Regions from separate parts of the Homo sapiens genome. Here all the other regions are linked to region 1. Evidence: promoter capture Hi-C in human tissues and cell types (Jung and others, 2019). All regions are on one chromosome and are shown on one strand. The core of a region is centred on a gene start or on the middle of the fragment in contact, and the rest is flanking DNA. Distances in the headings are between cores, read along the strand shown.

Evidence for each region. Contacts are between HindIII fragments. The study calls those that stand out against the background at their distance.
Region 2: a contact is called between a fragment that was not itself captured here and the fragment with the promoter of NAP1L5 in region 1, in 2 of the 25 tissues and cell types used here (IMR-90 fibroblasts and dorsolateral prefrontal cortex).
Region 3: a fragment that was not itself captured here is called in contact with the fragment with the promoter of NAP1L5 in region 1 in 1 of the 25 tissues and cell types used here (mesenchymal stem cells).
Region 4: a fragment that was not itself captured here is called in contact with the fragment with the promoter of NAP1L5 in region 1 in 1 of the 25 tissues and cell types used here (pancreas).

Annotation. Positions count from the first base shown.
Region 1 is chr4:88,693,754-88,700,219 of GRCh38, forward strand. It overlaps NAP1L5 (nucleosome assembly protein 1 like 5), which reads right to left and starts at 4,076. Exons shown (of 1, transcript NM_153757.4): 1 at 2,160-4,076. The coding sequence starts at 4,001. The coding sequence ends at 3,453. The region is part of intron 23 of HERC3 (HECT and RLD domain containing E3 ubiquitin protein ligase 3); the gene reads left to right. RefSeq lists an enhancer at 4,166-4,225. The HindIII fragment of the contact is 8,909 bases long and covers 1-6,466 here.
Region 2 is chr4:89,096,075-89,102,540 of GRCh38, forward strand. No RefSeq gene overlaps it. Among named protein-coding and RNA genes, the nearest start is that of TIGD2, 12 kb to the right of the region's middle. RefSeq lists enhancers at 5,198-5,437, 5,548-5,697. The HindIII fragment of the contact is 6,274 bases long and covers 1-6,115 here.
Region 3 is chr4:88,979,467-88,985,932 of GRCh38, forward strand. All of the region lies in intron 4 of FAM13A (family with sequence similarity 13 member A), which reads right to left. Among named protein-coding and RNA genes, the nearest start is that of FAM13A, 74 kb to the right of the region's middle. The HindIII fragment of the contact is 4,885 bases long and covers 1,097-5,981 here.
Region 4 is chr4:88,954,101-88,960,566 of GRCh38, forward strand. The region is part of intron 4 of FAM13A (family with sequence similarity 13 member A); the gene reads right to left. LOC105377327 (a long non-coding RNA gene) reads left to right here. Exons shown (of 4, transcript XR_938977.3): 4 at 3,295-5,552. Among named protein-coding and RNA genes, the nearest start is that of FAM13A, 100 kb to the right of the region's middle. The HindIII fragment of the contact is 3,831 bases long and covers 1,718-5,548 here.

The DNA.
Region 1 (6,466 bases), core at 2,826-5,325:
GGCATGCCAGTTTTCTGCGTAATACTCAGAGAGTTGGTTGAGTGTGTATTGCATGCTTCCTTTCTTTCTGCCAGTTATTTTGTGCTTTGTTGACTAATTTTGGCCTATAATAGGTTAAAATGGTTTATGAATGATAGTGTTTGACCTACCTTGAAGCAAGGGTATCCTGTTAGATGTTAACATGCAGGTTTTAGGGTTGCCAGAGAAACTATCAAATAAGCAGTCCAGGAAACAATATAAAGATTAGCCCAGTTAGGAAGTGGCAGAAATCGCTTGACGTCACAAACATCCCTGTATCCTTAGAGAAGTGGCCAACAATTCTCTAAGCTAGAAAACCCCACAGCTAAAATCTTATCATAAACAAAAGAAAGATTGCTGGCCAGAGCACATAGCTAGGAACACTTGTCTCTAGACCCTGCCAGAGCCCCGGCTCACCTAGTGCTGCAGGTTCAGGAACACGCAGCATTAGGTGAGTTCTTTCTGCCTCAGGCAGGGTTTGCAGTCTTTCCTCTTTTTAGAGACTCTGCTGATGTCCTTTATGTATTTCTCTAGTAGGACTTAATAATTTTCATATGATTCATAGGAACTCTTCATTATGTTTATGACTATTAACCCTTTGCCATCCATATTTATTGTAGGTTTTATCCTCTGTTTTTGGTTTTGAAAATGTAGAGTGTGTCTTTAACTCTGTGATTTCTTAATTTTTGTGTTGTCATGTGTGTTATTTCTTTTGGTCTTATACCACTCTAATCCTAGCCATTCCCTGTCCAGTAATTGATATTTAATATATTTTCTTCAGTTAGTCTGTAGTCTGAGGTAAAAATCTAAACTGTTTCCAAATTGCTAAAGGTTTTCTTAGCTGTTCTTAAGGTGAACATTATGGTAATTATATTAGGTTCCAGATCCAGTTTGAGTTTTGATTAGAATTGTGATAAAAGTTAATTTGGGAAGAACTGACGTTTTTGTGATATTCAGTCTTACTATCCAAAGGCTTATGTTATGTTTGTTTTTTATTTTTACATAGGTCATACACATTTCTTATTAGAGGTTTTATAAATGTTTTGATTTCTTATTTTTACTCTGAGAGCCTTTCACATATATTTTGATCATTATTAGTGCCTATAAATGGTTATTGGTTTTTGTGTATTTATCTGATAACTGGTCAGTTCATCAAACTTATTAAATTGAATTGTTTTCCAGTTGATTCTCTTGGGTTTTCTATATGTAAAAAACATTTCCCAATACTTATGCCTCTTAGTTGTGTTTCAATCGTTTTTGCTTTTTACTGGAACCAGAAAAATAGTAAAATGATAGTCTCTCTCATTCCTGGATATAAGAAATCAATATTAAATTTTATTAGATTTTTTCTCTATTAAGATAATCATATGATTAAGATAATCAGAACTTTGTATGTAACGTATTATTCTGATTTTCTCTTTTGGTTGGCCTGAGCATAATGAAGATTAACTTTACCTTAAGGTTGTTTGTACTCAACAATCTGTTGTGATTAGCAACAGGTCAGTGCTGCCTTCCATTCCCTAGGATAAAGCAATATAATTTTGCTTCTTTGTAATTTTAACCCTTCAGGGAAAAGGAAGCAAATGGCATCTGATTTTTTAATTTTTCTGGAGTCCAGTTTTTAAAAAAAACTTTCTGCTTCATTCAGAATGAAGCAAACATAAAGTTGAAATAGCCTTTTTTATCCTTTCTGGGAGATGATAAAAACCTGATATTATATTGAGGAAACCAAAACAAGATAGTTTATTTAATTTCCTGCATTTCTGAATTAAAGGCCACATTCTTCTCTCATAATAAGGAATCAAAAACATAGGGAGGGATGTAGTGATGTCTCTTTCTCCCATTTTGTAACAGGAGAGGAGGATTGAATTTCCAATCACTGTCTTTATCTTTCATGTAATAATAATAGCTAAGAATTATTCAGCACTTACCATGGTTTGGATGCTATTCTATAGGATTTATATGTATTAATCCATTTGCTCTTCATAGTAACCCATGAGGAAGGGACTATTCCTATTCCCTTTTGTAGATGAGGAGAAACTGGCCACTGAGAGTATTAGCTGAGTTGCCTAAGGTACATTACTAATAGGAGGCAGAGCTGGGATTTGAATGCAGGCAGTCACAGTACCGAGTCTTTTATATATATTTTTTGAAAATACTGTTTTATTAACACCACAGTGATAAACAACTTTAAGCTTATGTTTCTTTATAGATCACTGGCTCACACATAATTCAAAACCCACACAGAAGCTAAGAGTCTTTACATTAAATATATTCTTCCTAAAAATCCTTACTGTATGCATCTGTCCTCAAGCAGTAAAATTTGATTATGCACCATTTTATAATTAATATGTCACATTTACATAGCAAAATAATGAAGGCACAGCTAATACAAGCAAACTTAAACCCTTTCTACTTCTGAGCTGGGGGTAGGGGCACACACTTGGATTGGTTCTTCAAGTATATATTTTTTCCAAACATTAGCTTCAGTGAAGAGTTCTGATGATTTTCACAGCTACACCCTAAAAGCTACATGACAGAAAGACGTCACAAGGCGCAAAGTACATAACGCTGGATACACATGCTTTACATAATTTGCTACATTCTACATCTCTTCAAGTAAATTAATATTTCTAAAACGCTAGGTAAAGTGATTTAATACTTAAACATATTTGGGGTATTTTTTACGTGTTTGTAAATAGACAGTACTAAGAAAACACAAACATGAGATTGTAACTAATGAATACATATGTTGACAGTATTTTACAGGTTTTACACCCTCCTTCTTGGAACCATGTTGTTTCTCTAAATTCAAATACTCAAAACATTTTTCAGAACTTGAAATGGCAGTTTTCCTGGCCTTATTAACAGTAGTGTCATGATCTCCATTGCAATCTTCCTCAATGCCATCAATCTCCTGTGAAGTGTAAAGCTGATGTCTGCGTTACAAAAGCAAAGTCTCAAAGATGACGTTTTTCTTGGGTTCTGCCTTCTCTGCACTGCGAAATGTCATGAGTAAAGAAATTTAAGAATTAAGCACTGAGAACGTGTTCAGTCATGGCTTGGGTGTTCCATGTGTAGCGTATGCTGTGTGATGAATGGGTTTCAAAGTGACGTTCTTTACTTCGCATCTGCTAACACCCTTTGTAAACCTCAATCCTCAGAGAAGAGACCATGAAAACATAATTTTGGGTTTAATTCAGTTTTCTTTAACACCTTTTGATATATTTATTATGTTCAAAATGAAAGTCAAATTTGAATCGAGCTGGCCAGGATCTAATTGCTTTAATTTAATCTATTTTAGGAATGTCAGAATAAATTCACATTGTATTTTGGTCAAAAACCTGAGCCTTTTTAAGTCCATCGATATTCTGGGAAAAACAAAACCAGGCTTTTTTCTTCGTGGGCTTTCTCTTCATCCATCTCTGCCCCCCTTACTTCTTGGCGTCATCAGGCATCTCGGCGTGGGCATCGTCATGTTTGGCCCCCGCGGCAGCCTCTGCCGCAGCCTCCTCCTCCTCCTCGTCTTCCCCCTCCTCCTCGTCATCCTCGTACTCCTCTTCCTCCTCCTCCTCCCCCTCCAAGGTCCATGCACACCCCTCCATCTCGCCGGTGAGCTCTTGGATCTTGGCGAGTAGGGGCTTATAGATGTCATTATACTTTTTTTCCAGAGCCTGAAATTCCTTATCAAATTTGGCTTCTATCTTATCGCATCGCTTCTGCAGCTTTTTGAGGGCCAGGACTCGGCATTTCACCGAATTAGGCAGGCTCTCGATAAAGTCATTTTTCGGCTTTGGGGCATTCTCTGCAGGGGTCTGGGGCTCCTCAGCCATCTGACCAGCCGCGCTGTCAGGGTCACCAGCCGCGCTGTCACAGTCTCCACCCTGCGCACCGCCTTCCGCCATTACCTCCTCTGCCGCTGCCTCCGCCGCTGCCGCCGCCTGGCTAGGCTCCGCAGGCCCCTGGTTTTCCGAGTCGGCCATGTTAGAGGAGAAGCCGCAGAGGTCTAGGAGGGCTCCCGCAGAGGCCCTGCACCCGAGCTGGTCCAGAGAGATCTTGCGGATGCGGCAAGTGGCGGTGACGTGCGGCCGCGGGAATGACGTTGGCCGCGGCCCCGCCTCCTGCTTTCGCGGCACTTGACTGGCTTCCCACTATCAGCTGACGGCCGTGTGCTCATACTGCACCAGATTCCTCCTGTTGCTACCCTGACATCTTCTGGGCCCTCAACACCCGCCTGTTGGACAGACACCCTGTTCCCAGCCCACCCATGTACCCACCCCTGTAGAGCTGGGCTGGGAGTGTCAGTAGCTGCCCGAGGTGCTTCTTCAGGAACTGCATAGATGGCCTCAGACCATTTTCCGTGTGCTCCTCACCCCCATCCAGGCCCTTCTACAAATGCCAGTGCATATGTCTTCGCTTTCCTCTGCATCTCTCTCCATAGCTGGCGTTTGATCACCTCTTAGATTCCTCCGCATTCCTCTCCATGCAGTGGAGGAACGGGCAAGCTGGCTCCATTCCACCCCTTTGGGGACCTGGGGTGCATGTGTGTGGATAGGGCAGCTTGCATATCCAAGCTCTGTACCTATGTGTCCACCCAACACCCCCTTGGCCATCCCACACACCTAGCGGCATATATCTTGGTGGCAAGGTCGTCTCTCAGCAGGACTCCCCTGGAAGCAGTTTTGGAGCCATTTGGGTAGGAAATCTCAGAGCTCCCGGTGTCCTGGTGTGTGTTCTAGAAGATCCTACAGAATCTTTGGCCTGTGGGAAGGACTAAAGCTTGAGGAGGGCTGAAAAAAAGCAAGTCTTTCTAAAGCATGGGGCCCAGGGCCAAGGCCCCCTCTTATCTTGGTTAAAGCATGTGCCATCTATCCCACCCCGCTCACATTCGTCTTCCCTGCCTTCCCCCAACACCGTCTGCTTCCCTGCCTTCCCCACTATCTGTTTTCACACCTTTCCACACCACATCTTCTCCCTCCCTCCTGCCCCTCCCCCGCACTGACTTATGCCCCACCTTCTGCCCATCTTCTTCCCCGCCTTCTTCCCCACTCACTGCCTCCTTCCTCACCTTCCCCCCGCCGCACTGTCCTTTTCCCCACCTTCCTCACCCTCTTCTTCCCCACCCTCCTTACCCTCTTCTTCCCCACCTTCCTCACCCTCCTCACCCCCTTCTTCCTCACCCACTGCCTTCTTCCTCACCTTCCCCCCACCGAACTTTTTCCTCACGCTCCTCACCCTCTTCTTCCTCACCCTCTTCACCCTCTTCTTCCTCACGCTCCTCACCCTCTTCTTCCTCACCCTCTTCACCCTCTTCTTCCTCACGCTCCTCACCCTCTTCTTCCTCACCCTCTTCACCCTCTTCTTCCTCACGCTCCTCACCCTCTTCTTCCTCACCCTCTTCACCCTCTTCTTCCTCACGCTCCTCACCCTCTTCTTCCTCACCCTCTTCACCCTCTTCTTCCCCACCCCCTAGCCCCACCCTCTTCCCACCCACCCCCAGCCCCGCCTTCTTCTTCCCCACCCACCCACCCAGCCCCACCCTCTTCCTCCCCACCCACCCACGCAGCCCCACCCTCTTCTTCCCCACCCTGCCCACCATCTTCTTCCCCACGATCTGTCTTCTTCCCCACCTTCCCCCACGGTCTTCACCACCTTCCCCCAACCGTCTTCTTTACCCTGCTCACCATCTTCTTACTGGCTCACCATCTTCTCTGCCTTCTTTCTCACTCCCATATATCATCTCTTTTGATGGCTACAGCTGCCTTGAGATTAGGAATGATGTTTCTCATTTTACAGATAGTAAACTTAGAAGCAAATACAGTGAAATCATCTTACTGCATGTATCACTTAATTGGCAGATGCAGGGGCAGAAAACAGGCCTTTTGACCCCTATAGTATGGATGTTGTGACAGACTTTAAAAAAAAAATCCCACATTTTGGTTAAATTCATTTGACTAACTTAACTTGCTTAAAATATTTAGGGCATGTTCATCTTTCAAGATTTTTATTTTCCTGTCTCAACAGATCTTAAAACTTAGTGTTAAACCAGACTGTTTTTTAAAAAGTCTGGCTTATTGAGGTATCATTTACATAACAGTAAAATTTGTCCTTTTGGGCGTGCTTTCACAAGCAAATACAGTAATGTAAGCACTGTAGTAATCAAGATATAGAACAGTAAATAGTCCCCTAAAAGTCCGTTGTGGCCCTTCCCCAGCATCCAGCCCTGGTGAGCACTGTGCTGTTCTCTGTCTCAGTACCTCTGTTTTTTCCAGAATGTCAGGTAAATTGAATCATATGAATGTAGCCATTTGAGCCTGGCTTTTTTTTTTTACTAGCAGAGTACATTTGAGATTGATTTATGTTGTTGTATATATTAGTAAATTTATTTTTTATTATTTTTTATTTTACTTTTTATTATTGGGTAGTATTCCCATTTGTGGTGTTTGCA
Region 2 (6,466 bases), core at 1,729-4,228, 400 kb after region 1:
ATGTCCAACAATGATAGACTGGATTAAGAAAATGTGGCACATATACACCATGGAATACTATGCAGCCATAAAAAATGATGAGTTCATGTCCTTTGTAGGGACATGGATGAAATTGGAAATCATCATTCTCAGTAAACTATAGCAAGAACAAAAAAGCAAACACCGCATATTCTCACTCATAGGTGGGAATTGAACAGTGAGAACACATGGACACAGGAAGGGGAACATCACACTCTGGGGACTGTTGTGTGGTGGGGGGAGGGGGGAGGGATAGCATTAGGAGATATACCTAATGCCTGATGAGGAGTTAATGGGTGCAGCACACCAGCTTGGCACATGTATACATATGTAACTAATCTGCACATTGTGCACATGTACCCTAAAACTTAAAGTATAATAATAAAATAAAATAAAAAATAAATAAAATAAATAAAATAAAATAAAAAAAGAATAACTATTTGAAGACTGTCAATTACGTTACACATTTTATATCTTTATCATCTACTTCAGATACCTTCAGACAGGCTATAAATCTGCCAAAAACACAGTATATGTAATATGCTGTGATTCAGGATTAAAACACAGGCAGAAAATGTGCATCTGTTTTGGATTAATGAGAATTTTCAACAGACAATATTCAGGTAGTTTTGTGAACCCCCTTTTAATTACAACTCTCCTCTCTCTCTCTCCATATATATATATATATATATGATGGAATATACATATATATGATGGACAATACATATATATGGTGGAATACATATATATGATGGAATATATATATGATGGTATATATATGATGGAATATATATATATGATGGAATATATATATATGATGGAATATATATATATGATGGAATATATATATATGATGGAATATATATATATGATGGAATATATATATATGATGGAATATATATATATGATGGAATATATATATATGATGGAATATATATATATGATGGAATATATATATATGATGGAATATATATATATGATGGAATATATATATATGATGGAATATATATATATGATGGAATATATATATATGATGGAATATATATATATGATGGAATATATATATATGATGGAATATATATATATGATGGAATATATATATATGATGGAATATATATATGATGGAATATATATATGATGGAATATATATATATGATGGAATATATATATATGATGGAATATATATATATGATGGAATATATATATATGATGGAATATATATATATATGATGGAATATATATATATTCCATTCTTGCAAATAGTCTACAATTCATCATGGGTATATAAATTAATCTGACATTTCTCACTGTAGTTGGCTTTTAGCTATCTATATCTCTTTTCAAAGCCTCCTTAGGAGCTTAAGAAAATGTGAGTACTTCCTTCAGGTTGGAAGATCTAGGAAATAATAAAATCATAGCTAGTATTAGTGCTTATTATGTGTTGGACACTCTGCAAAACAATGTATACATACCATTTCAGTTCATTCTTCAAAAACAAAAAAAAAATCAGTATGATCTTTATTCCCATTTTCCATAAGTGAAAGATTTTATATAGCCAGCCCAAAGTTCCATAGGTGGTAGGTGGCAGTCAGAAGTACAAACCAAAGACTGTTTCAGGAACCATAAGCTTTATCACTAAGATGCACTGCCTGTCAAGTCTCTTAATTTTAGTTTACGCTACATGTTTCCAAACAATGGTCAAGATAATTATAATATAAAAAGAGACTCACCATTAAAACATACTTAAAATAGAACTTAATGGATAGGAGAAGAAAAGTGGTAAGAATTCAAGGTGAATTAATAGAGCAAGTAAACACAAAATAAAGCATACAGATTTATAGAAGTCAATGTTAAAATGGACATATCTAGTTCTTGTGTCAGACAAAAGAAGTCAAATTTCATCTGGTCATATTTTTTCATTAAATATAGCCAGACTTTATCAAATAAATCCTGAAATAAAATGATAGAGTACATCATGAGCAGTATGTTCAACATCAGTTGGGCTAAATACAGAGATAATTCTCAAAAGTTTATTTCTTATGCTTCCCCTCTAAGAAAGCCAATAGGGAAACAGTAAATTGCAACATTTAACATAGAACTATTACAACCCAAATAAAAACCAGGTAAAGGACCTGAAGAGACATTTCTCCAAAAAAAGACATGCATATGGTCAATAAGCACATGACATGAAGCTCAATATAATTAGCCACCAGGGAAATGCAAATCAAAACCACAGTGAGATACTACTTCACACCCACTGGGATGGTTATAATAAAAAAGACAGATAATAACAAGTATTGGTGAGAATGTGGAGAATTTGGAAGCCTCATACATTTTTTGTAAAATAATCTAGCTGCTTTAGAAAATATTTCCTTAGGAGATTAAACAGACAGTTACCATATGATCAAGCAATTTTAGTCATAGTTATATACCCAAGAGAAATGAAGACATATGTCCACACAAAAACTGGTACATGAATGTTCATAGACAAACAGCAGAAACCAAGCAACTGATGAAGGAATACATAAAATGTGATCTATCCATATAGTGGAATATTATTCAGCAGTAAAAGAAAATGATATACTGATACATGCTATAAAATGATGAACCTTGAAAACATGCTAAATGAAGGACACATATTATATGATTCCGTTTATATAAAATAACTAAAATAGAGACATAAAGTAGGTTAGTGGTTGTCAAGAGCAGAAGGGAGTGTTGGGGACAATGGGGTATTACTGCTAATGGTACAGGATTTGTATAAGTGAAGAAAAGTTGAGAAACCTGTCTAAAATTGATTGGAGTTTAAGAAACACTATCATGAAGCATTGAAGGGATTATTTGGATGGACAAGCATTCAAGCCAGGTGTTAATATAGTTATGGGTCACATAATGACATTTCAGTCAATGACAGACTGAGTATATGATGGTGGTCCCATAAGATTATAATATCATATTTTCACTGTACTTTTTCTACGTTTAGATATATTTAGACACACAACTAGTTAACATTGTGTTACAACTGCCTACAGGATTTGTACAGTACAGTAGAGTTCACAGCCCAGAGGCAACAAATTATACCATATAACTTAGGTATGTGGTAGGCTATACCATCTAGGTTTGTATGAGTACACTCTATGACATTCACACAATGATGCAATTGCCTAAAAACACATTTCTCTGAACACATCCCCATCATTAAGCAATAGATGACTGTAATTGTCTTTTTCAAGCATAAGAGAATCTCACGAAGGTAGAATTATGTCCTGATACATCTAATCAAATGAATTAGGAATAGCTGTAAGCCTAAATGAGTTCAAGGATTATTAAATTTTTTTGGATCATGAATCCTTTGAGAATGTGTTGAATGCTATGAACAAGGTAGGCATGGTATTTACCCTATGAAACCTAAATAATTTTGTGGAAATCAACATCAGAGGAGGACCTGCCATGACTGTGGTGAAACAAGACAAAAACAAGATCACCTCATAATCTTGCTTGAATAGAAATTTAACAAGGGGATGGGGGAAAAATACTGTGTAACCACAAAAATAACCAAACATCCTGCTCTCCTGGATAACTTCTCTAGTGACAGCTCTGGCCTCTCTCTCTTCCTCTAGCTTCCTAGATAAAAATTTGTAATATACCCAATACCCAAATTGCTTCTGCTTTCTGACAACACCCAGTTGAGAACAGATTCTTTCTTGAACCTTCCCTAAAATCACCTTAGCTAAGCCCAAATCCTACAATAAGCCTCTCTTGACTCCCTCTTAATGCGATACCCATTGTTTTCCAAGGTATGACTCTCCCTTGCTAGAGTAGTAAGCCTAGTTTTGGTTACAAGTGTGTTCTTGGTGGTATTTGGCTAATGAGAATCACAATATAAGATTTATAATACATTACTGCAAAAAGCACGTATAAAAGTACATATATATAAAGGGCCAAGCACAGTGAATCAGCTCTGAAATCCCAGCACTTTGGGAGGCCAAGGTGGGAGGGCTGCTTGAGGCCAGGAGTTCGAGACCAGCCTGGGCAACAAAGCAAGAGCCTATCTGTACAAAAAATAAAAATTAGCTTGGTCTGGTGGTGCATGCCTCTAGTCCTAGCTACTCGGGAGGCTAAGGTGGGACTATAGGATAGTTAAATTGATATAGGAAAGGTAATGGAGGCTGGGCATGGTGGCTCATGCCGGTAATCTCAGCACTTTGGGAGAGCAAGGCAGGTGGATCACCTGAGGTCAGGAGTTCGAGACCAGCCTGACCAACATGGTGAAATCCCATCTCTACTAAAAACACAAAAATTACCTGAGCATGGTGGCGGACGCCTGTAATCCCAACTACTCAGGAGGCTGAGGCAGGAGAATCACTTGAAGCTGGGAGGCAGAGTTTGCAGTGAGCCGAGATCACACCACTGCACTCCAGCCTGGGCAACAAGGACGAAACTCTGTCTCAAATAAACGAAAGTAATGGATATACAGTAAAATGTTAAGAATAGTTATCTCTATATGTTGGCATTATTATTTTCCTTTTTGCTTCTCTGTATCTTATCTTGTTCTTCAAAGACTGTGTACAATTTAATAAGAAGAAAAAAGAGGAGGAAGAAAAACTCCCTTCCAAAAGAATATGTTATAAGGGAGGAATTTTATATTCAAACAGTTGTTAACCATAAAAGGTTTTCAAACTTTGGTGTAATAGAATCACACGGGATGATCACTGAAAATAAAGATTCCTGGGCTTCATCCCCAGTGTGAGCCCAGGAAATCTATATATTGGACTCCAGGTGATTCCAACCCACAGGGTTTGAAGAGCAACCTTGATAAATGTGGCTTTGGGGACAAAGTAGGACTTGGAAGGACGTACGGATGTACAGAGGAAGAAGAAAGCTTCCCAGACTAAAGGGGAAGCATGAAAAGCTCAAAATTATGAAGCTGCATGTGCTGAGGAGAGGGAGAATGAGTGGTGTGACGCACAATGGGCTCTCAGTTAACCTGACCTTACCAACCTGGGACAGAATTGAGGGCTCCTCTAAAGAATGTTGGAAATTGGGCAGGCTTGGAAAGGTAAGCAGGGTATATAATTTTCATTCACATTTCCTACTCATATTTCTCATACCAATCAGCCAATTCACTGGTTTCTTCAATTTACATCTAAGTGATTTTCAGGAAACGAGTCTAACTTTTCTTTAAGCATCGCCACCAATAATTTTCACTTCTTTTTTAAACCCCACTAAATCTTTTCTACCCTCCTGGGAACTCATTCTCTTACCTTTGCCTATGCTCCCAGCCATCTGAAAACCTACCATCCACCAGCCAACCAAGAAACAAAGAAAACAAAACAAAGTTTAAAAGTTCCCCACTGGGCATCTACATGACTCAAGAGTCTCAGAACTCACTATCTTTCAGTATTGTAACTTACCAACTTCTTAAAAATGATCTGGGATTTTCCAGTGAGTAATCAGAACTTTCACTTGTGTCTAGACACTTTCAAGTGGAGAAGTGTCCCTACCTTTATGCAAAAGGATATCTTTTTCTATTTATATTTTTTATATATATTTTCTAATTAAGGTTCGTCTATAATATGAAGTAAAATAATGTTTGAGCTGAAAGAGATGTCAAAGGAAAAGCTTTCATTTTACTGATGAGAACCGTTTCACATCCTGTTTTCCCTAACATGGGGTTCCCCAACACCCAGGCTACAGACCAGTGTGGTCCGGTTGGTGGCCTGTCAGGAACTGGGCCGCACAGCAGGAGGTGAGTGGCAGATGGGCAAGTATTATGGCCTGAGCTCCACCTCCTTTCATATGAGCAGCAGCATTAGATTCTCACAGAAGCTCGAACCCTATTGTGAACTGCGCATGCGAGGGATCTAGTTGTATGCTCCTTACGAGAATCTAATGCCTGATGATCTAAGGTGGAACAGTTTCATCTTGAAAGCATCCGCCACCTCCTCCATTGTGGAAAGTTTGTCCTCCATGAAACCAGTCCTTGGTGCCAAAAAGGTTGGGGACCACTGCCCTAACAGACCCATATCCCCCTGCATACTTCAAAAGAGGAATAAATTATATTTTATCTGGAAAATTCCCCTCAATATTTTATGTCCCTTAAGGTAGGTGACAGTAAATGGTTTTTGTGCAAACCACTGATTTATTATTGGCACTAAATAATTAAGTTACTAAAGGCAAATACTATTCTATATTAAATAAGTTTATTACACATAGAATAATAGCATTGTGATAAAAAAAAATTCATGTTTTTTTTTTTTTTTTTTTTTTTGAGGCAGGGTGTCACTTTGTCACCCAGCCTGGAATATGGTGGCATGAACACGGCTCACTGCAGCCTAGACTTCCTGGGCTCAAGCAATCCTCCCACCTCAGCACCCCCCAGCAGCTCGACTACAAGCATGTACTACCACACCTGGCTAATTTTTGTATTTTTTGTAGAGGCGGGGCT
Region 3 (6,466 bases), core at 2,289-4,788, 290 kb after region 1:
CAGAATCCTGACTCTAACCTCTTACTAGTCATGTGACCTTATGCAAGTTAAACTTTCTGTGCTGCAAGTTTCCTCACGTGAAGAGATAATAATAGTACTTGCCTCATAGGGTTTTGAGGATAAAATGAAGAAATAGATACAAAGCATCTATAACATTACCAGGAACCTAGTAAGAACTCAATAAATATTGCCTATTATTATTATTGCCAAGAAAAAAAACTAATTGGCCAGGCATGGTGGCTCACCCCTGTAATCCCAGCATTTTTGGAGGCCGAGGCAGCAGATCATGAGGTCAGGAGTTCAAGACCAGCCTGACCAACATGGTGAAACCCCGTCTCTACTAAAAATACAAAAATTAGCCAGGTGTGGTGGCATGTGTCTGTAATCCTAGCTACTTGGGAGGCTGAGGCAGAAGAATCGCTTGAACCCGGGAGGTGGAAGTTGCAGTGAGTGGAAATCATGCCACTGCACTCCAGCCTGGGTGACTCCAACTCAAAAAACCAAAAAGTAATTAATTTTTCTAATTGCATTCTAAATGCAATTTATAAAATGGCTTAAATAAATTGTATTGCTCAAAAGATCAGAATGCTATGCTGTCGTTAAAAATGATGATGTAGAATTACATGTATAAGCATGAGACATGCCATGATAAACAACAGTAAGTTTTTAAATAAAGGTTATAAAGTAGTATTACTTTATTATCCCATCTTTAGTCATGTGAGCATGCAGAGAAAACAAGATGAAGGCACATAAGCTGACATGTGGGGATTAAGTCTGGTTTATAAACTGACGTGTGACCAGGGATTAAGTCTGGTTAGTGGAATAATGGATGTTTTTTATCTTTATACTGTGGGGGGTTTTGTTTGAAAACATTTTGTTTGGCCATGAGCATATGTTACTTTTGTAATAAAAACAAATGTATAAACATTTTGAAAAGAAATGGTAAGTAGTAAGCCAATTATCACAGTTACAAGTGGCAGTAGGATTGCCAGCACAGAACTACAGGCAATGAAGTAGGTGCTACATAGGGCTAGTGCAGATTTAGGCAGAGAAAGGCCAAACTTTCCAATCACCCATTCTTTAATATTCCAAAATCATATTTATAGAGAATATCAATAACAAATATAATTATGCTAAAAATTAAGGGAAAAATTTGCATTTTATAAACAGACAACAGGTTATAAATATATAAATATGTGATCCTACAGCTTGGGCTTGATTTTTAAAAATTTCAACTATTTATACTTTTCAATCCAAATTACCAGTTTCTAAAAGTAACTTTTGGGTTACAAACCAAATATAGCTGCTTAACAGCAGTTAGCAGATAAAATGACAGCAACATTATAATATCTGGTTATACATCATGTTCGTGTCTACAAATTTAGCTGATATCATTTAATATTTAATGGTGTAAATATTATACCAGTAAATTAAACTCTAACTTATTGTGTTGTTTTTCTGCAAGATTTGAAGACCAATAGCAGTTTTAAACATTTTTGGTGCTGCCACTAAGAAAAAATGTAACATCTTGGATAGAAGAATAAGTGGAAGGGCTTATCATTCAAAATATGAAACTGATTTATCTTTGAAAGTTTCAGGAATACCTACAAAATTATTTTTATCTTATTGGTTAGTACTGAAACACTTGTTTCAAGGAATAGAATTAATTTACCTATCTATAGACGAAAGGCACAAGACGCAGAGATATGAAGCAAAATTTGACCAAAATGACTTACTCATCAGTAGCAATAGCAAATTTAATTATTAGAAATTAAAGACATACATGTTATCAAATTGTACAAACTAAGTGTGCACAATGAGTTTAATGCAAAGTGCCAAGAATACTAACAGACAAACAAAAAACCCAGAACCAAAAGCCGAGGCTTTGGTCCGTGCATCAATATCACTTAATCAGATTTTTAAATACACTCTAAACAACGGCAAATAAAAAATATTTAGGTATTTCTAATATAATGAATCTCATGCATACCCAATGTTATCCTTAAATATTCTTAAAGTATAAAATCTCTCACCTAATCTTAAGAAAATAGATTTTCCTAATGTATTAGAACTGTCTGCTACATCACTAGGTACACAGTGCCTTAGAGCAGATCCTCAAGAAACCCAAAGAAAACAAGGCAATGATGAGGATGTTGGTGTATTATTTTGACAGCAGGGATACCAGGCAGGGTGGGTGAGAAAAGGAGGCAAGCAGGGATATGAAATAATGTAAAGTATGCATAGCTCTTTCACAAAGAACTACAAAGACACATAACAGTTTGCTCGACAGATGCTTTGCTTGGCAGTCTGGAATTCCCCAGATAAGCTGCAAGGAGAAGCCATGGGATGAAGAAATGTGTTCCATGGGAAGAACAAAAAAAGTCCATGTCTCTTCCTGACTCTTATTTAACTGTTCTAGATTTCCAGGTTGCCATATCCCATGCCTCTGATACCCTATCAGGAATTAAGATCCGAGTCTAGGGTTCAAAAGTGATGGCAGAAGCCAGAAACTCTGAGCAGGTGGCTTGTTGACCCAGCTATAAGGCAGAAGCCAAGAAGAAGAATCTAGCATTCCCAAGGCAGGAGAAAGGTCCAAGCCTGGTGGAAGCAGATTGGTCTGAGAGGCGGGTAGAGCCAAGGCAATCTGAGGAGGTCAGAAGGTGTCTGATACAAGTACTAAGTTGAAGAAGTTGGCTTGTGTTGAGAAATTTTACTGGGTAAGAACATTTTCTATTCCATTAAATATTAACAAGCATACTCAATACTGTAAGAAGCTTGTTCTAAGTGAGAACTATGACAACTGAGGTTAAGAGCAATGTCATGTCTTCCATCTCATGTTTCTAAAGAGCCCAGTTCATTAACTAGTACGATGGGCAGAGCCCATAAAACCTGATCTTTCCCTTAATGCAATTTTAAATGTATTTAATTAAATGCACATGGATTCTAACTCTGCCAATTGCTTACAATGTATGAGGACTTTCTCTTACAGTCTCACTTAAATTTCAAAGCAAACTCTGTGGGTCCTGTTTTACAAAAATTTAACAGGAAAATAATGCAGGCCAAATCTACCTGCATTAGTAGAATAAGGACTACTAATGGGCAGAATAAGAACTAGACTAACTTCCTTTTATACGTCATGCTATCCAAACCACTGAAAATCCAATACTCATTTTAATAACTATCAAAACTTACAGAAGCAATTCCTGCTAATTTCTAAGAATGATAAAGTATTCAGAGGACTTTTGCCTTAGAAACTGGGATATTGGGGATTTCCTTAGAAAAATCATATACAACATATATAGCTCACAGTCCAAGGTTTAATGAATTTTTAAAAGAAAATATTTATGTAGTGACTCTGTGAGGTGATGCCCAGGTGTCTCCTTCATGCCAGAAGTATTCATTATCCACCCAATCTCACTCAAAGTGTTGCCTGCTTATGGCTCATGGCTAAGTCCTTCTTCTGAGACTACACAATGTCCCTGGCACAGCTCACCTCCAGTGATTGATGGAAATGGGGTAAGGAGACTAAACCCTTTGACTCAACTAGGGATTTATCTGAAAGGTCATCCCATCTTCTCAGCTCCCCTGGGACTGAGTGAATCCTGTGTTACAACTTGATGGCAGTTCAACTTCTGCCTAATCCTACCTTCCTCTGTTCCTTATAGGTATAAGGAAAGAATGGTTCCAAAAAGTACTACCCAATAAAACTTCTGCTTGAAAACTTAGTCTCAGAGTTATACCTTGGATAACCCAACCTATTATATCAAGTGGTAAAATAATAGTGAAAATGAGGAGACAAAGTAATACTGAGAGGAAAATTAGAGTTTTAAGTGTGATTATGATGGATAAAAGAGACTAAAAATAAACAAAATAAGTATTCAACAAGGAAAAATAAAACCTGAGCACCTAATAGGAAAATGGCAAAAGATACAAACAGGTATATGAGGAAAAAGACAGATGGCCCTTAAACACAAGTAAAAATGTTTAGTTTCATTTATAAGAAAACACATGCAAATTAAAACTATATTGGTATTAGCAATGAGCAATCTGAAAATAAAACTGAGAAAACAATTACATCTAGAATAGCATCTAAAAGAAAAAGATACTTGATAATAGATTTAACAAAATAATTGCAAAACTTGTACCCTGAAAACCATAAAACAGTATTGAAACAAATTAAAGACCTAAGTAAATGGAAAAATATTTCATGCTCACATATTGGGAGATTTAATTTTGCTAAAATGGCAATAGAGTCCTCTCCAAATTGGTCTCCAGATTCAACAGAACATCCTATCAAAATATTGACTAACTTTTTTGTAGAAATTTACAAACTGATCCTAAAATTTGTAGAGAAATACAATGAACCTAGACTAGTCAAAATAATTCTGAAAAGAAGAACAAACTTGGAGTATTGAAACTTCATGATTTTAAAACTCATTAAAAAGCTATAGAATTATCAAAATACTATGGTACTGACATAAGAATAGATATACAGATCAATGGAATATAACTATGAGTTCAGATATAAGCCCCAATAATTGTGGTCAACTTATTTTTGACAAGAGTGCTGAGATAATTCAATGGGGAAAAACAATCTTCAACAAATGATGCTGGGACAACTGGACAGCCACATGCAGAGGAATGAAGTTAGACTCCTTTATACCATTCACAAAAGTTAACTCCAAAATAGCTCCATAGACCTAAACATAACAGTCATAACTAAAAAACTCTTAGAAGATGAATAAATCTTCATGATCTTGGTTAGCCAAAACTTTCTCAGGTACAACACAAAAAGCATAAGTGACAAAAGAAAAAACAGATACATTGCACTCCATCAAAAATAAAAACCTCTGCACTTAAAAGGACATGATCAAGAAAATGAAAAGGCAACTTATAGAATAGAAGAAAATATTTACAAGTCCTGTACCTGATAAGGAATTTATATGCAAAGTATATAAACAACTCTTATAACTCATCAATAAAGACAAATAAATCAACTTAAAAATAGGCAGAAGATCTGAATAAACATTTCTCCAAAAATATACAAATGGCCAATAAGCACATGAAAATATTCAATGTCATTAGTAATCAGGGAAATGCAAATCAAAACCAAAATGAAATAGTGTTTCATACCCACAGGAATGGAATAAAAAAGATATTAACAAGGATGTAGAGAAACTGGTTCGCCCATACATTGCTGATGGGAATGTACATGGCCATGTGTCTTTCTCTTCATATATTTTTGTCTTTTGCCATTTTCCTATTAGGTCCTCAGGTTTTATTTTTCTTTGAATATTTATTTTATATTAGTCTCTTTTTGCATGATAAGCACATCCCATTGCTGATGGGAATATATGAGGGAACAAATGCATGAGGGAATGTAAAATGGTGCAGCCACTTCAGTAAACATTTTGGTAGTTCCTCAAAATTTTAAACAGTTACCATGAGACCCAACAATTCTACTCCTAGTTATATACCCAAGAGAAATGAACACATAATTCTACACATGACATGTACACAAATGTTCACAGCAGCATCATTCGAAATAGCCAGAAACTAGAAGTAACACAAATACCCACCAACTAATGAGTTGATAAACACATCAACTGGTGTGTCTCTACACTGAAATATTATTCTGCCATAAAAGGAATGATGTACTGACACATGCTACAAAATGGATGAGCCTTGAAAACATTTTGCTAAGTGAAAGAGTCCAGTCAGAAAAGAACACATATTGTATGATTACATTTATATGAAATGTCCAGAATAGGCAACTCTCTAGACACAGAAAGTAGATGAGTGGTTGCCTAGAGCCAGGTTGTTGTGGGGAGTGATTGGGAAGAAATGGGAAGTGACTGCTAACAGTACAGCATTTCTTTTGGGGGTGATGAAAATATTCTATAAGTGACCGTGGTGATGGTTACAGAATTCTGTATCTATTCAAAACCAACAAATTATATACTTCACATGGCAAATTGTACGGTATATAAACGGTGTCTCAATAAAACTCTTAAAACTTAAAAAATCCACACTGGGATATCACATCTGACCTATCAGACTGGCAAGACTTCAAAATTTTTGCGAAATCCTCTTGGCAAGACTGAAAAATGGACACTCTTGCATGCTGCTAACAGACATGTAACACTGACTCATCCTCTGTGGAGGGGAATTAGGGCTATCTAATGATATAGAGGCATTTGTTCTTTGACCCAAAAATCTCATATTTAGGAATTAATCTTGGTGATACATATGCACAAGTTTATTTGATGTGGGATCATATCTAACAGTAAAAGATGGGAAACAAACGACCATCAGAAAAGTACCATTGACTAAAACTTACTTTGTCCAAGCAATGAAGTAATACACAAGCACAAAAAAGAATAAAAAAAAAAAAACTGTTGGAATGATCTCTAAGATTTGCAGATAAAAAGCAAAGTGAAGAACAGTGTAAGGAACACATAGAAAT
Region 4 (6,466 bases), core at 2,383-4,882, 260 kb after region 1:
TGCTTATAGCTAAGTTAAGGTAGGTCTTGAGATAATCCAAAATAAGACAACCTAATTGGTCTACACATAATATTAATATGAGGTGCTATATACTCCTGTATTCTTCATCCAATGAACATTTTCTTCATTTCAAAAGCTTAATACTTATTAACAAAAGTGAAAATGAATCTGTGATCACAATCTTACTCTGCTCTTTAAAGCAGCCCAGAGATGCATAGGAGAATGCTACTGTCCAAAAAGAGTTAGAATACTTTTCTCTGCAGTAAACTGCCATCTATCCATCCATAAATCCGTCCTTTCATCTATCAATCAACCAAAGTGTTAGAGGCTAGGCTAGTCAATGACACTTCTAAGATGCGTAAACCAGATTCTTGCCCTAAAAAGTTTACAAATAAGGTCAAGGGAGGAGCCAGAAAGAGGATAAATGTTAACAGGCTTAAACACCTATACAAAAAATAATAGGAATACAAAACAGAAATATGTTCAAAATGCTATGAGAATGGCCAGGAGTGCTGGCTCATGCCTGTAATCCCAGCACTTTGGGAGGCCCAAGGTGGGCAGATTGCCTGAGCTCAGGAGTTCGTCACCAGCCTGGGCAACACGGCAAAAACCTCGTCTCTACTTAAAATTCAAAAATTAGCCAGGTATGGTGGTGCGCGCCTATAATCACAGCTACTCAGGAGGCTGAGGCAGGAGAACCGCTTGAACCCAGGAGGCAGAGGTTGCAGTGAGCAGAGATTGTGCCACTGTACTCCAGCCTGGGCGACAGAGCAAGACTTCGTCTCAAAAAAAAAAAAAAAGAAAAAATGTTATGAGAACTCCAAGAAAAGTAGTTGTTGCTTGTTATTCCCACCACCAGCATTTCCCTCTTTTCTGGTTATTGTCTTGATTCTAATCCCATCAGGATATTACTCTGTCAGGTCAAGTCAGGGCAGTTAAAGAAACTCCATAGAGCTTCCTTCATACCTCACCGTTTTATAACTCTCACAAATATTTTCTTAAGATTGAATGTACTTTTAATGGCTAGAACTAACCATATTATAGTTAGAATGTGTTTTTATTATGCTTAGAATTGTTTTCAGAATGTAGAATTACGTATTAATTAGAATTAAATATCATTATATTTATTTATTATATTGTTATATTTCCCTTCAGTTTTGATAACAACAGAGCACCAGGGAAAAGACCTCTATTAACCTCAAATTAAATTCAGAAAACCAATATAATCTACTGAATACACATAGTCTGCCATGATTGTAAGTTTCCTGAGGCCTCCCCAGCCATGTTGAACTGTGAGTCAATTAAACCTCTTTCCTTTATAAATTACCCAGTCTCGGGTATGTCTTTATTAGCAGCGTGAGAACAAACCAACACAGTAAATTGGTACCGGGTAGTGGAGCGCTGCTGTAAAGATACCCAAAAAATGTGAATGTGACTTTGGAATTGGTAACAGGCAGAGGTTGGAACACTTTGGAGGGCTCAGAGGACAGGAAGATGTAGGAAAATTTGGAACTTCCTAGAGACTTATTGGATGGCTTTGACCAAAATGCTGATAGTGATATGGATAATAAAGTCCAGGCTGAGGTGGTCTCAGATAGAAATGAGGAATTTTGGGGGAAGTGGGACAAAGGTGACTCGTCATGCTTTAGCAAAGAGACTGGCAGCACTTTGCCCTTGCCCTAGAGGTCTGTGGAGCTTTGAACTTGAGAGAGATGGTTTGGAATTGGAACTTATGTTTAAAAGGGAAGCAGAGCATAAAAGTTTGGGAAATTTGCAGCCTGATGATGCAATAGAAAAGAAAAACCCATTTTCTGAGGAGAAATTCAAGCAGGCTGCACAACTTTGCATAAGTAGCAAGGAGCCTAATGTTAATCCCCAAGGAAAAAAAAATTTAAACATTTATAAGGTAAACTAGTTACAGTAAGTTAAGGTTAATTTATTATGGGAGAAAGAATTGTTTAAAATATATTTAGTATAGCCTAAGTGTACCATCTTTTTAAAGTCTACAGTAGTGTACAGTAATGTCCTACGCCTTCCCTTTTACTCACCACTCACTCATTGACTCACTCAGAGCAACTTCCAGTTCTGAAAGCTCCATTCAGGATAGATGCCTGACGTAGGTGTACCTTTTTAAAATCTGTTATATCACATTTTTCTGTACTTTTGTTAGTTTAGATATGTTCAGATAAACAAATACCATTGTACTACAATTGCCTACAGTATTCAGTACAGTAACATGCTGCACATGTTTGCAGACTAGCAGCAATAGACTATATCATATAGCCTAGGTGTGGGGTAGGTTATACCTCTCGGTTAATATAAGTATACTCTGTGATGCTCACGCATGTACGAAATTGTCTAATGACGCATTTCTCAACATGACTGTATACTTCAATAAAGCTATTATTTAAAAAAAGATGAAGAAACACCAAAGAACTTAAGGAATTTATCCAAGGTCACTATACTAGATTTCTATTACTGATATAACAAATTACCACAAACTTAGTGGCTTAAAACAACACACATTTATTATCTTGGAGTTCTAGAGGCCAGAAGTCCAAAGTAGGTCTCAGTAGGCCAAAAAAGTAGGTCTTAACAGGGGTCAGGTCCTTCCTAGGGGAGAATCTGTTACCCTCACTTTCTAGCTTCTAGAGATCTCCTGCATTCCTTAGCTTGTGGCCTCCTCTCACAACACACCTTCTTATCTGACTCTCCGGCCACCTATAATGGCCCTTGTGATTATATTGAGCTTATAATACAGTTTGGATTGTCCCCGCCCAAATTTCAGGTTGAATTATAACCCCAAATGTTGGAGGTAGGACCTGGTGGGAGGTGTTTGGATCATGAGAACAGTTCCCTCTTGAATGGCTTGAGCTATCCCCAGGGTGATGAGTGAGTTCTCATTCTGAGTTCACATGAAATCTAGTTATTTAAAAGTGTGTGGGTCGGGTGCAGTGGCTCACGCCTGTAATCCCAGAACTTTGAAAGGCTGAGGTGGGCAGATTGCCTGAGGTCAGGAGTTGGAGACCAGCCTGGCTAACATGGTGAAATGCCATCTCTACTGAAAATATGAAAATTAGCTGGGCATGGAGGCACATGCCGGCAGTCCCATCTACTAGGGAGGCTGAGGCAGGAGAATCACTTCAACCTGGGAGGTGGAGGTTGCAGTGAGCTGAGGAGATTGCACCACTGCACTCCAGCCTGCATGACAGAGCGAGACTCTGTCTCAAAAAAAAAAAGTGTGTGGCACCTCCCTCCCACCCCACATCTCTCACTTGCCTCTGCTTTCTCCAGGTAAGCTTCCTGAGGCTTCCCTAGAAGCTGACCTGATGCCAGCACCATATTTCCTATAGAACTTGCAGAATGATGAGCCAATTAGACCTCTTTTCTTCATAAATTACCGAGTCTCGGATATTTCTTTATAGCAATGCAAGAACAGCCTAACATAGAAAATTGGTACCAAGGATGGGCATTGCTCTAAAGACACCTGAAAATGTGGAAGTGACTTTGGAACTGGGTAACAGGCAGAGGTTGGAAGAGTTTGGAGGACACAGAAGAAGATAGGAAGACAAGGAAATGTATGGAACTTCTTAGAGATTTGTTAAGTGGTTGTGACCAAAATGCTGACAGAAATATGGACGTTGAAGGTCAGGGAAATGAGATCTCAGATGGAAATGAGGAACTTACTGAGAACTGGAGTAAAGGTCACCCATGTTATGCGTTAGCAAGGAACTTGGCTGCACTCTGCTCATGCTTTAGGGAATTTGTGGAAGTTTGAACTTTAGAGTGAAGATTTAGGGTATCTGGTGGAAGAAATTTCTAAGCAGCAAAGTGTTCAAAATGTGGCTTATTTCTAACAACCTATGCTCAGATGTGAGAGCAAAGAAATGACTAAAAGTTGGATTTATATTTAAAAGGGAAGCAGAGCATAAAGTTTGGAAAATGTGCAGCCTGGCCAAGCGTCAGAGGGAAAAAAAAAAAGCTTTTTCAGGAGAAGAATTCAAGCAGGCTTTGGAGCAACCACTTGCTAGAGAAATTTGCGTGACTAAAAGGAGCCAAGAGCTAATAGCCGATACAATGAGCAAAAGGCCTCAAGGGCACTTCAGAGATCTGCTTGGCAGCCCCTCCCATCACAGGCCCAGAGGCCTAGGAAAAAAGAATGGTTTCCTGGGCCATGTCCAGGGCCCTGCTACCCTGCACCGCTTCAGGACACTGCTGCCTGCATCTCAGCCACTCCAGCTCCAGCTCCAGCTCCACCCCTGGCTCAAAGGGGCCCAGGTACAGCTTGAGCTGATACTTTGGAGCCTCTCACTGCTCACTGCATCTCAGCCACTGCAGCTCCAGCTCCAGCCATAGCTCAAAGGAGCCCAGGTATAGCTTGAGTTGACACTTTAGAGAATGCAAGCTGTAAGTCTTGGTGGCTTCTATGTGGTGTTAAGCCTGCAGGTGCACAGAATACAAGAGTTAAGGAGGTCTGGCAGCCTCTGCCTAGATGTCAGAGGATGCATGAGAAAGCCTGGTTGTCCAGGCAGAAGCCCGCTGCAGGGGTTGAGCCCTCAGAGAGAACTTCTACTAGGACAGTGTGGAGGGGAAACGTGGAGTTGGAGCCCCCCGACAGAGTCCCCACTAGGGCACTGTCTAGTGCAGCTGTGGGAAGAGGGCTACCACTCTCCAGATCCCAGAATGGTAAATCCAGTGGCAGCTTGCAACCTCAAGGCAGAAAAGCCACAGATGCTCAACATCCTGTAAGTTTAGCCATGGGGGCTGTACCCTGCAAAGCCAAAAGGGTAGGGCTGCCCAAGGCCTTAGGATCCCACCTCTTGCATGAGTGTGCCCTGGATGTGGGACATGAAGTCAAAGGAGATTATTTTGGAACTTTACAATTTAATGACTGCCCTGCTGCATTTCACACTTGCTTTTGGTTGATTTTTCCCATTTAGAATGGTAGTGTTTACCTAATGCATATACCCCATTGTATCTTGAAATTAAATAACTTGTTTTTGATTTTACAAGCTCATAAGTGAAAGGGACATGCCTTGTCTCAGATGAGATTTTGGACTTTTGAGTTAATGTTGAAATGAGTTAAGACTTTGGGGGAATTATTGGGAAGGCATGATTGTATTCTGCAATGTGAAAAGGACATGAGATTTGGGAGGGGCCGGGGCAGAATGATATAGTTTGAATATTTGTCCCCACCCAAATCTCATATTGAAATGTAATCTCCAGTGTTGGTAGTGGGGCTTGGTGGGAAGTGTTTGATCATGGGGGATGGTTCCCTCATGAATGGCTTGGGCCATCCCCTTGGTGATGAGTGAACTCTCACTCTGAGTTCACATGAGATCTGGTCGTTTAAAAGGACGTGGCATCTCCTTGCCTCTGCCACTCTCTCATTTGTTCCTGCCTTTGCAATGTGATGTGCCTGCTCCCCCTTTTCCTTCTGCTATAATTATAAGTTTCCTGAGGCTTCCCGAGAAGCCCAGCTGATGCCAGTACCATGCTTCCTACAAAGGTTGCAGAACTACGAGCCAATTAAACCTATTTCCTTCACAAAATACTCAGTCTCAGGTATTTCTTTACAGCAATGCAAGAATGGCTTAACAGTCCACATGGATAATCCAGAGTAATCTTCCTATCTCAAGATCTTTTACTTAATAACATCTGCAAAGTCCCTTTTATCCATGTTAAGTAACATATTTACAGGTTCTGGAAATTAGGATATCAGCCTCTTGTGGCGGTAAGGGGGTGAGGGGATGTTGTTATTCTGTCTACCACAATAATTTCACTAGGCAGGTTTAAAACCAAATTCAAACCCATGCACTCTGAACACCTGCTTGCTTAACTACCGCATCCTTACCCTTCCATTATACACAGTAGAAGTTGCCTGGTTCTCGGCAAGAAGGCACTTAAATCGCTTTGAGAATGACTTTTCAAAATACACTGGACCCTCAGAAAGAAAGGATTCTGGGTTGTAGAAAGTCATCTCCCTCTCCTGAGTTCTAGAGGTAACTGTCTTAAATTCAAAGTAGCACTGAAGGGCAATTCCCATGTGGAAATATCTATACCAAGGCAAGAGTAATGTCCCACCTCTTTGCAATAAACAAATGAAAATGCTATAAGAAATCCGTCAGGAAAATAATCTCAGTTATTGTCACTATGTGTTTCTCTTTTTTGCTTTATTAAAAAATAACACAATTTTCAACATCCTGAAGCCTATTTGATTTTTCAGTGAGAAAGACAGTTTTTAATATTTTTTGTCCTAGTTGTGAGTGAGATATAACTGAAGATATGAGGAAAACTGATGATTAGGTTCAATTACAAAACAATAGAAAAACAGAGGGATACAAGTTAGCCTGCCCAAATAATTGAAGTAATCCCTTGGTTCTACTTCTTCAGTATCATCTCCTTCAAAGAAAGAGAAAATACACAAAAGTGCACAACAATAAACTGAATTTTTCCGCCACAACAA